Linked DNA regions of Homo sapiens: regions 1 and 2 are each linked to region 3. Evidence: promoter capture Hi-C in human tissues and cell types (Jung and others, 2019). All regions are on one chromosome and are shown on one strand. Each heading gives the region's core, a stretch centred on a gene start or on the middle of the fragment in contact. The rest is flanking DNA. Distances are from core to core; before and after follow the strand shown. Region 1 overlaps RYR3 (ryanodine receptor 3). Region 2 overlaps RYR3 (ryanodine receptor 3). Region 3 holds the start of CHRM5 (cholinergic receptor muscarinic 5).

Region 1 (3,490 bases), core at 665-3,164, 190 kb after region 3:
TGAAGTCTACCTTCTTACAGCTCATTAAGCCAACAGTCATTCTCCGGCTCTAGATAAACTTTTTAAGAGCCATATACACGGTCAGCATCCACTCTTTGCTAAAGCCAGTGATGAAAGACATGGGCTCAGGGGAGCTGGACATAGAGTCCCATAGTGTGTCGCTAATGGATAAAGGACTGTGTCATCTCTAATTACAACCTTGTCTCTTTTCTTCCTTTGGAATATGCAATGGTGGGGAGTCATTTTTTATTTATGAATATGTCTTATCAAATCAATGCAAAGGTATATAGAATGAAAAGGAACACTTTTCAAATAGCTCTTGGGAAGGAGCACAATGCAAGAGACTAATTCCCCTCCCTCCCAAAGCTAACCTAGGCTTTCCTCTATCTTTGTCACATCCTCATTTCACCCTGCTACTGTGCCTTTATGAACTAAAGAGCAGAGGCAGTTTCTCTCTTTCCCCAGGTGAAGCTCTACACAGTGCTGGTATAGAGACAGAGATACACTATTTCTCAAGTCACAGTTGAAGCAGAATAAATGTATACATATCCAGAACTGTCATGACTGGGCCCCATGTCCCTTTGGAGTCAGGAAGCAACACCTGGGCTGGCATTTGCCTGGAGATGTCACAGCCACTTCTCAACTTCACCAAAGTCTGCTCTGCTGCTCAGCTTCCACTTTGGTGGAAAGCCAGGACTCATTTGGAATCAGGAGTGGGAAGTAAAAAAAAGGTTGGAAATCCCCCCCCCCTTTTTTTTTTTTTGCTAATTTCAAAGGGAAGAAAGGGTGAGATGAGGCTGAAGCGGTTGAGGAAAGGTTAACTTATAGATTTCATACGGGACTTTGGAAAGTTGAGGCATCTTGGCAATGTTTCTCTTGACTACCTCTGAGAACACTAGTCTCCACTGTATTCTAGCTCAGTGAAAGATTTTTATTAGTGGCCTTATCTGAATTGTCCTGGTGATCATTTCTGGGGGGCAATGTGCTCCTCTTACCTGAAGTAACAAGAAGCGAGTGGGAATAAAGCTGCCATGGCTTAGCACTTCGCATTTTTAGATGAAAAAAACAGCAGTGGCAAAGAAAAGTGTGGCATGAGCCCTTTCTTGCTCAGAATGCTTCTTCCTTAAATCTCATGGCAGTTTGAGAAAGGGGGCTTGAACTAAATGGAATTGCTACCACGTCCAGACATCTACTGGTAGTGTATAGCAATATTTTAAGAAAACATTGGTTCTGAATAGAAAAAGCTCTGGTTGAAAATAATTTACTGTAGCTTGTTTTCCCTTAATATTGATTAGCCTACAGTTGGGTAATTTTTGCTTCAGAATAGATGGAATCATCGCAGTTCTTTCTAGTTGGAGTCCAAGCTTGATTCAAGGCTCCTACTTGAAGCTCCTCTATTCTATTCCCTTATCCTTAGGCAGGATCACAATTAACCCAGATACAAGCACCCTCCAGAAGCAGATTTACAACCTGCCTTGGATTTTAGTTCCAGGATCATTTTACAAAAGAGGGTGGAAAACGTTTCCTGTAGAGGGCCAGATAGTAAATATTTTAGGCCTCGCGGGCCAAACTTTCCTGCCTCTACTCAACTCTGCCATTGTCGTGCTAAAGCAGCCACAGACCAAATGTACGTAAGTAGGTGTGGTTGTGTTCAAATAAAACTTTATTTACAAAAATAGGCAGGGGGCCAAATTTGCCCTGTGGTCATAGTTTGCCACCCTGTTGTGGAACCTAGCGTGTCAATATGTTTGCTAAGAAATATTCTTTCTTGTACACTTTCTCTTCCTTTTGGTGCTTTTCTATGTCTTATCTTCCATGAGGACAAAAATGTGTCATCAGCATCTTTAGAAGCACGCCTCTCCATGGACTTGAAGAGTATAACTGGGTTATTACTGTGGATGTGCACCTTCTGATACCACTCTGGAGAGGCACTGCAAAAAAGGAGTCACATCCCCAGGTGCAGAGGGGGAACTGAAACCCAGAGCAGACAAGAGACCCTGAGGTCTTAGGATGGAAAGGATTTCAAAATCAGCAACACTGACTCCTCACTTTAGAGAAGAGGAAACCAAAGCCTAATTATAACAAAGCCTTGCCCATGCTTATTTCTCCAGTAAGATGCAGACCTGCAACCTAGTCCCTAACCTCACCTCCTGGCTCCTCTCAGACCAAGAAAGCCACAGTGCTGCAGGGCTGCTGCTCCCTGCCTGTGTGGCTCCTCTCCTCTCAGCACATGAAATGGGTTGATGACCTTTGAGGGGAGATACTTACTAGACCTCTCCCTGGGGGTTTTGGTGTTGAAGACCGAGAGTGGATTGTAGCGATTAAGGGTGGGCTCCAGGAATGCCACTGGTATGGCAGCTGCCAGCGAGGCCAGACATTCTCCAAGGGCAGGGCGTTGCCTGGAAACAAAGAAGTCCATTGAGAAGTGTGGCCCCCCACATGCTGGCCCCATGCATTGGCAGATCAGGCCTTCCCCATAGATTAATCCATGGACATCCCTAGGCACTAGGCTCAGCAAGCTTGCATGCACTTCTTCCCCTCCTCTTTCTCTAGACACTAACCAATGCTCTCACTGCTTAGATCCTAGTTCTTTTTTTTTGAGACGGAGTCTTGCTCTGTCACCCAGGCTGGAGTGCAGTGGCGCGATATCAGCTCACTGCAAGCTCCGCCTCCCAGGTTCACGCCATTCTCCTGCCTCAGCCTCCCGAGTAGCTGGCACTACATGCGCCCACCACCATGCCCGGTTAATTTCTTTTTCTATTTTTTTTTTTAGTAGAGACGGGGTTTCGCCATGTTGGCCAGGATGGTCTCGATCTCCTGACCTTGTGATCTGCCCGCCTCGGCCTCCCAAAGTGCTGGGACTACAGGCGTGAGCCACCACGCCCGGCCAGATCCTAGTTCTTAACTGGTTAAGATGATATAACACACTGTGCGGCTTTGTCCCTCTCTCCCAGCATGTGTGAGAGCAAGTTCTGCTGGTATCCAAATTGAGATGGATCCTTCCCTGTTCTCAAAAATGCTTTGAAATCTGTGTAATTTCTCTGTGTCTCTTCTCTGCTATGGATGGAGCCTGTGTCCACTAGTGGGAACAGTAGGTAGCACACCAAAGCACCAATGAGACACAAAAATAAAAGACCTGCCCTTACAACAGAAACAATAGGTCCTAAAACCTACTGCTTGATTTACAGGAGAGACCTCAGATAACGGTTACTCCTTTCCCTCTTTTGTACAAATAGTTGACTGTCCACCATATCTTAAGGTCTGGTTCTTAAGTCTTCCTGTGAAGCAAGCAAACAAACAAAAACAAAAGGCTTGAGATCACACCATTGCACTCCAGCCTTGGTGACAGGGCAAGACTCCAACTCAAAAAGAAAAAAAAAGAAAAGAAAAGAAAAATTGTGATCTTAACTGGTCTTGAAGAAAAATGACTGCACAAGACTATGATAGAATCTGCAGACAGCAAATCTAGGGTATATAGAAGTGCTCTCCT
Region 2 (3,683 bases), core at 214-2,713, 140 kb after region 3:
AGCTGGAACTTGGAGACTATGAAATAGGATAATTTACTCAATGTGAAATATGTGAAGATAATGGTAATTATCCAAATAATCATAGTAACAGCAACAACATAATAGCTAATATTGTAAGTGCCAGACGTTGTTCTGAGTACATTACATATACAGGCATGTAGAGATTCAGAGATAATCCGAGTTTGATTACAGATAAACTACAGTAAAGTGAACATTACAATAAAGTGAGTCATACAAAATGTTGATTTCTCAGCGTACATCAAAGTTATGTTTACAATATGCTGTAGTCTATTAAGTGTGCAATAGCATTATGTCTTTAAAAAACAATGTACGTGCCATCATTAAAAAATACTTTATTGCTAAAAAGTGCTAACAATCACCTGAGCTCTCAGCAAGTTGTAAGTTCCACCATCTTTTTGCTGGTGAAAGGTCTTGCCTTGATGTTGATGGCTACTGACTAAACAGGGTGGTGGCTGCTGAAGGTTGAGGTGGCTGTGGCAATTTCTTGAAATAAGACAGTGTTAACTGCATCAACTGACTTCCTTTCATGAAAGACGCATGTACTGCTTGATAGCATTTTACCCACAGAACTTCTTTCAAAATTGGAGTCAGTCTTCTCAAACCTTGCCACTCCTTATCAACTAAGTTTACAATTTTAAATCCCTTTTTGGCATTTCAACAATGTTTAGAGCATCTTCACCAGGAAGACTCCATCTCAAGAAACCACTTTCTTTGCTCATCCATGAGAGGAAACTCTTCGTTTGTCAAAGTTTGATCATGAGATTGCAGCAATTCAGGTTCATGTTCTTCAGGCTCCACTACTAATTCTAGTTCTCTTGCTATTTCCAACACGTCTGCATTTATTTCCTCCACTGAAGTCTCAAACCCCTCCAAATCACCCACAAGGGTTGCAATCAACTTCCTCAAGTCCTGTTAATGTTGATATTTGACCTTCTCCCATGAATCAAAATTTTTTTTTTTTTTTTTTGAGACAGAGTCTCGCTCTGTTGCCCAGGCTGGAGTGCAGCGGCGCAATCTGGCTCACTGCAAGCTCCGCCTCCCGGGTTCACGCCATTCTCCTGCCTCAGCCTCCCGAGTAGCTGGGACTACAGGCACCCGCCACCATGCCCGGCTAATTTTTTTTTTTGTATTTTTAGTAGAGATGGGGTTTCACCGTGTTAGCCAGGATGGTCTCGATCTCCTGACCTTGTGATCCTCCTGCCTTGGCCTCCCAAAGTCCTAGGATTACAGATGCGAGCCACTGGGCCTGGCCCACAATGTTTTTTAATGACATCTACAATGTTGAATCCTTTCCAGAAGGTTTTCAACTTACCGTGCCCAGATCCATCAGAGGAATCACTATCTGTAGCAGCTGTAGCCTTACGAAATGCATTTCTTAAAAAATAAGACTTGCAAGTCAAAATTACTCCTTGATCCATGGGCTGCAGAATAAATCTTGTATTAGCAGGCATGAAAAAAAGATTCATTTCCTTGTATATCTCCATCAGAGCTCTTGGAACCAGGTGCATAGTCAACAACAGTAATATTTTGAAAGGAATCTTTTTTTTTTTCTGAGCAGTTGGTGTCAACAGTGGGCTTAAAATAGTAAATCATGCTGTAAACAGATGACAATCCAAGCTTTGTTTTTCCATACATAGAGCATGGGCAGAGTAGATTTACCATAATTCTTAAGGGCCCTAGGATTTTTGGAATGGTAAACGAGCAGTGGCTTCAACTTAAAGCTACCAGCTGGGCTGCCCCTAATAAGAAAGTCAGCCTGTCCTTTGAAGCTCTGAAGTGAGGTATTGGCTTGTCCTCTCTAACTATGAAAGTCCTAGATGGTATCTCTCTTCTAGGAGAAGGCTGTTTCATGTACGTGGGAAATCTGTTGTTTAGTGTGACCACCTTCATCAATTATCCTAGATAGATCTTCTGGGTAACTTGCTGCAGCTTCTATATCTGCACTTGCTGCTTTACCTTACACTTTTGTTTTGGAGATGACTTCTTTCCCTAAACCTCATGAACCAAACTCTGCTAGCTTCAAACTGTTCTTTGGCAGCTTCCTTACCTCTCTCAGCCTTCATAGAATTGAAGAGAGTTAGAGCCCTGCTCTAGATTAGATTGTGGCTTATGAGAATGTTGTGGCTGGTTTGACCTTTTATCCAGACCACTCGCACTGTCCCCATTTCAGTAATGAGGGTGTTTTGCTTTCTTATCATTCATATGCTCACTGAGGCAGCCCTTTTAATGTCCTTTAATAACTTTTTCTTTGCATAGCTTGGCTGTTTAGTGCAAGGGGCCTAGCCTTTGGCCTGTCTTAGCTTTCAACATGCCTTCCTTACTAAGCTTAATCATTTCCAGCTTTTGATTTAAAGTGGGAGATGTGTGACTCTTCCTTTCACTTGAACACTTGGAGGCCACTGTAGGGAAATTAACTGACCTAACTTCAATACTGTTATGTCTCAGGGAATAGGAAGGCCTGAGGAGAAGGAGGGAGATGGAGGAACAGTTGGTGGAATGGTGAGAACACATGCAACATTAAGTTTGCTGTCTTACAAGGGCATAGTTCATGGCACCCCAAAACAATTACAATAGTAACATCGAAGATCACTGATCACAGATCACCATAATAGATATAATAGTGAAAAGTTGGAAATATTGTGAGAATCATCAAAATGTGACAGAGACACCAAGTGAGTAAATGCTGTTGGTAAAACGGCACAGATAGACTTGCTTGATGCAGGGTTACCACAAACCTTCGATTTGTAAAACACACAGCATCTGTGAAGCACAATAATACCAACTGCAATAAAATGAGGTATGCCTGTATCCAACCTCTCAATCTTTACTACCACCCTATGGCATAGGTCCTACCCCTTTTACTGATGAAAAAACTGGAACACAGGCACATTAAACATATTGCTCTAGGTTACAAACCAGTAAGTGGCAGAACCAGGATGAGGAATCAGCAAAGAGGAAAAAAATCCCTTTTTGTTAATAGGTTTGTGTAGATTTTTTCAATATAATTTGGGCTTCCTTGAAACAAACCATCTGACTTCTCAACACGAACTTGTAAACTCATCCTATTCCTATCATCTCGTGTAAGTCTTTTTTTCTAGTGAAATCTGTTCTCATTCACAGGTTATTTTAGAGCTCTTGGTTGTGTTATAGCTCTTGGTTGTTTTATAGCAACACAGATTGGTTTTCACTGGCAAAACTAAAGTAAACCAGCATTTCATAACAGACGATTTGGTGTTTAACCACGTCTCCCACTTCTGTCTTCAAATATACTCTTTGGGCACTGGACTTCCCATGCATCTGTGGATACACGTTACAACGCCTTCCTTATAGGGGCTTGACTGTATCCTGGGCTGTCCCTGACCCTGTGTAACTGTGTTTATCTTCTGGAAGCAAAGGTGAGAGGTCCCATTGTCCAAGGCCCTCCCACTCACCTGCAGACGCAGAAGGTAGTCCACAGTGCTGATGATGACATTCACGGTGGTGGTGTTGCCCATCTGAGTCCGCAGGAAGTTCTGAAAGTCTGAGAGCACCAGTGCTGGGTCAGAGCTTGTCCCTGCCATGCCGAGGGGGCCAAGCATGCCCTCTCAGCTGAGCTCAGATAAGACATTCTATGTGAAAAGGCTTACAAGAATACCATGTTTGGGTCATGGCAGATCCTGCAG
Region 3 (3,926 bases), core at 1,292-3,791:
CTGTAGGGTATTTTTTTGAAAGCTGTTACCAAAACTTCAGTAATCACTTTTCTGAATGGGTTATTATAGAGCAAAGCCTTGATTTGGAAAGGAAAGAAAGTGAAAATTCACTGGGATTGATGCTGACAAGGACCAAATTGGGGTGGAGCAAGGTAGTATTCATTTGCCCAGCCATTGTCATTAGAAGGTGAGTTATAGAAACAAAGCCCCCAAATTAGTGGGATATGAGTCTCTGTTTACATTACAATGAGTAAATAAAATCCAGAACACTTAAGGAATATTGTTATCTGCCCCCTTTAATTCCATTTATTGGAAGCAAATTGAGCATAGTAGAAATTTCATACTTTTGTCCAAGTTAATTAAAAAATCTTTAATTATAATTTAAAATATTGATTAATATTCTTCATTTAAAATATCTACATATTTTTGAATCATGTCTGTTTACAAACTGTAATACCATAATAAGGAGGGAACAGATGAAAAGAACCCTTAAGGGTTCAGCTGTTTCTCAGTGTAGGTAAACAACAACAATACCACCCTTAACTTTTAGTTATGTCTGGTATGCATAAGAAGTATTTTGAGATTTCTAAATAAACATTTTTTTCTCTGAAACAAATTGTTGTATTAGATAATCACTACTTGTATTAAATTGCTGCTTTCCTTTGGTACTGGAAAATGACAGGTAAGTTTCTGTAATGACTTCAGATGTAAAAGACTTATGATATTTAAGGTTATTTATAGACTGTCTTGAAAAGCCTGAAGGGATCATATAATTTACTCCCTTAACTAAAATTTGAAAAAAGGAAAGAATTCAGTGAAATGGAAGAGAATTTCTAATTTGACTACTTTTAGACAAGTATTGAATACTTACTTCTGATAACTTTATGTATATTACCACAAGATCTCCGTAGTTAGGTGTGATATGCTCTTGTTTCCCTGTCTCCTCTCTTCTAAGATAATATAAATATTATTTGTTGTAGGACTTCTTTATGATAAGGTGCTTTGGACCTAAGTTTTCCAATGAAACTCATGAAAACCAATGTGGTTGGGATTTCTGCTAAATGATAACGTTTTGTTGTTTTTACATAAGATTGTCACTCTAGAAGTCTCATTATGCAGTGATTTCTAGGGAATTTCTTAAAGGCACTGTATCTTTTAAAATCCTTTGATGGCTTCACTAGTGCTTTGCATTTTACAGTTTGGACCACTGACCTGAGTCAAAGCTTTTGAGGTTTTAAGGTACCAGACATCTTTCATCTTTTTATCCTCTTGTTGAATCAGAAAAATGTCTTCATTTAGTCTGTTATAAAAATGTCTAGTATCTTTAGGATAAATTAGCCCTATCCTACAAGAGTGTTATACCTCGATTTAGTAGAGATTATTTTTCTTTAGTATGAATGAAATGACATCACAGCTTTTTTTTCTTAGTAACAATAGAAATCAGTCATTGAGCTTTTGTTCCTTTATATGAATAAAAATATTTAAAATGCTTATTAATTTTTCTTTGTTTTATCAAGTACTCTGGGAAACTAAGTTCATTTGAATATTGTTGGTAAACATTATCTGTGAATGGCTCTTATGCACCATTCAGGGCTCTCTTCATGCATTTTTTTCAAGCTATTAAATAAAACAAAATTGGGATAAAAATAAAGACAAAGATGAGACAAATTCAATGAAAAATGAATGGGAGTTTTGGATGCTTTATTATCTAGTTCTGAGTGACTTGTTTATGCAGCATAAGTAAAAACAAGCGTTTACCTCAGCTTAAATCTGCAAAAGCTTAAGGAAGGGTTGCAAGAAATTCAAATCCACTATCTCATTCACAGCACGAGCAGATTTAATTTCAGTAGACAAGATATAAATTAAGGTTATAAAATTAAATCTTACCTGGCAGTGGTTTGTTTGAAGCTCAGTAATTTGAACTCTGGCTGGAAATAGTAAGCTTCGAGACCCAAAATGCCTTCTCTACTTTCCTTTCATGTTTTATTTTGCCAGTGTTTTATTTCTTGCAGTGTCTTTATATCTGTATTCCTGATAATCCTGTAGCATTAGTTAGGATAGTATGCGGTAGATGAAGACTCCATTTGGATAGGATTATAGAACCAGAAGGGTGAGTTTTGCCTTTATCTGGTAACAGCAGTTGATCTGATCACAAACAATCTGAGTGTTGAGAACTTATTAAAGATTCATTGAATGCTTCAGCAATGAGAAATCCTGGTTGTTCCTATATGCATTTGACCCCCTGGAAAAGTTCTGCTTGTTCGTATTTCAGAATTACACACGCTTCCAAATCAAGCTGCTTTAAAAAACATTATCTGGACTAGAAGCATGGATGTTCTTGCACTCTTGCTTTCCTTTCTCCATACGAACTTTTCAGTCCATCAGCTTCCTTTCTGTAGAAGATGAAGGCATTTCTTCTGTCCTCCTCATGCTTTTGTAACCCATGCTTCTGGTACCCTGTTTTTTGAATAGTGAGGTAAAAATCCAGAAGGAAGTACGGCTTTATCATGTCTCTGGACGGTGAGCGTACTTGGCATGAATGAAGAGCTGATAGGAGCTATTCAAACCAGACAGCAAACTGATGGGATGACGCTGCCATACATAAAAAACTCATTAATTACTTCCCCTGCTGGACAGCAGTATATCCTGAAAGGAAGAAAGAAAGGAGCAGATGATGATATTCGTTTTGATAGGTGTTCTCTGTTTGAACAGCTTGTCATTGAGAAGAGAATCCAGGAAAAGCTGCAGCTTCAGAGTGTGATCAGGTAGAATGGGCAAGAGTTATTTGACAGACAGTTAAGTGACGTATTTTGGGAGGAAAAAGAGGGCTTAGCATGGAGGTAGCTGGAATAAGGTTCCAAAATGCTTTTGAAAATGTTCATTTTTTCCTGTTAGTCTTTTTGGCTAGAAGCTTTTTTTTTTTTTTTTTTTTTTTTTTAAGCTTTGCTAGGCATTATTCACAGACATGTTGCTGAGTTATTTTCTCATATGGTTTTCCCTAAAGATGGAAAATAATTTTTAAAAGTCTTTGAGATAGAAAGAGTATACTGTGAGTTTTAAATATTTGTAGCAGAGAAAAGGCTGCCTTTTTTTTTTTTCCTAAATGTATGCCTGTTTTTATACATCTTTTGGGCATATGCGTTTTGTTGCTTTGGAGTAAAGCATTATAAGTCCTCATTTGATACAAACTTTTAACAGGGTCTTCATTAAAGCTTTTCCTTAAGTTAGATGAAATCCATATTAGCTGTATAAAAGAATAGATTTTTAAATGTCAATTTCATAATTTTTGCACTTCAGTTTTTAAATTTAAAATTCAAATTTTTAAAACTGCACTTCAGTTTAAAATTTAAATTTTAAATTTAAACGTTTTTTCCCTGCCTGAGTTCTTTATGAGTGTATCTAGACAATATAATGTTTTTAAATTTTAAAAAATTATTATGGAACATTTCAAACTTACACAAAACTCTGAAAAATAATACAAAAATAATACATGAACCTCCAGAAACTCATTACCAAGATTCAACAATTGTCAGATTCAATTCTTTGCTAAAATATTTTAAAGCAAATCTCATTTCACCTATTTGTACTTTAGTATGTATATTTTTAAAGTATGGACACTTTTTCACATGACCCTGTGCCATTATCACACCTAACACATTGGCTATAATCCTCTGGAGTCATATAATATCCAGTTCATTTTAAATTCCTTGTGTCTCAGAAACTATGTCTTTATGTAGGTTTTTTCTGAGTGAGAATCCAGACAAAGTATACACTTTAATTGTTAGCCAATAGAATTTTAAACACTGACAGATGAACATGTATGAGAAAGAAGTGAATTTTAGTTTTATAGTGGTCTTTGACACACATTTGTAATAGGAATATTTATGCAAGAGAACATATCTTTAGAATATTTTCTTGAACTTTTC

Evidence for each region. Contacts are between HindIII fragments. The study calls those that stand out against the background at their distance.
Region 1: a fragment that was not itself captured here is called in contact with the fragment with the promoter of CHRM5 in region 3 in 3 of the 25 tissues and cell types used here (dorsolateral prefrontal cortex, lymphoblastoid cells and mesenchymal stem cells).
Region 2: a fragment that was not itself captured here is called in contact with the fragment with the promoter of CHRM5 in region 3 in 2 of the 25 tissues and cell types used here (heart left ventricle and mesenchymal stem cells).

Annotation. Positions count from the first base shown.
Region 1 is chr15:33,779,120-33,782,609 of GRCh38, reverse strand. It overlaps RYR3 (ryanodine receptor 3), which reads right to left. Exons shown (of 104, transcript NM_001036.6): 65 at 2,269-2,399. Among named protein-coding and RNA genes, the nearest start is that of CHRM5, 190 kb to the left of the region's middle. The HindIII fragment of the contact is 5,462 bases long and covers 1-3,490 here.
Region 2 is chr15:33,827,057-33,830,739 of GRCh38, reverse strand. It overlaps RYR3 (ryanodine receptor 3), which reads right to left. Exons shown (of 104, transcript NM_001036.6): 85 at 3,453-3,541. Among named protein-coding and RNA genes, the nearest start is that of CHRM5, 140 kb to the left of the region's middle. The HindIII fragment of the contact is 5,248 bases long and covers 1-3,683 here.
Region 3 is chr15:33,967,112-33,971,037 of GRCh38, reverse strand. CHRM5 (cholinergic receptor muscarinic 5) reads right to left here and starts at 2,541. Exons shown (of 3, transcript NM_012125.4): 1 at 1,888-2,541. The region is part of intron 2 of AVEN (apoptosis and caspase activation inhibitor); the gene reads left to right. The HindIII fragment of the contact is 2,452 bases long and covers 1,502-3,926 here.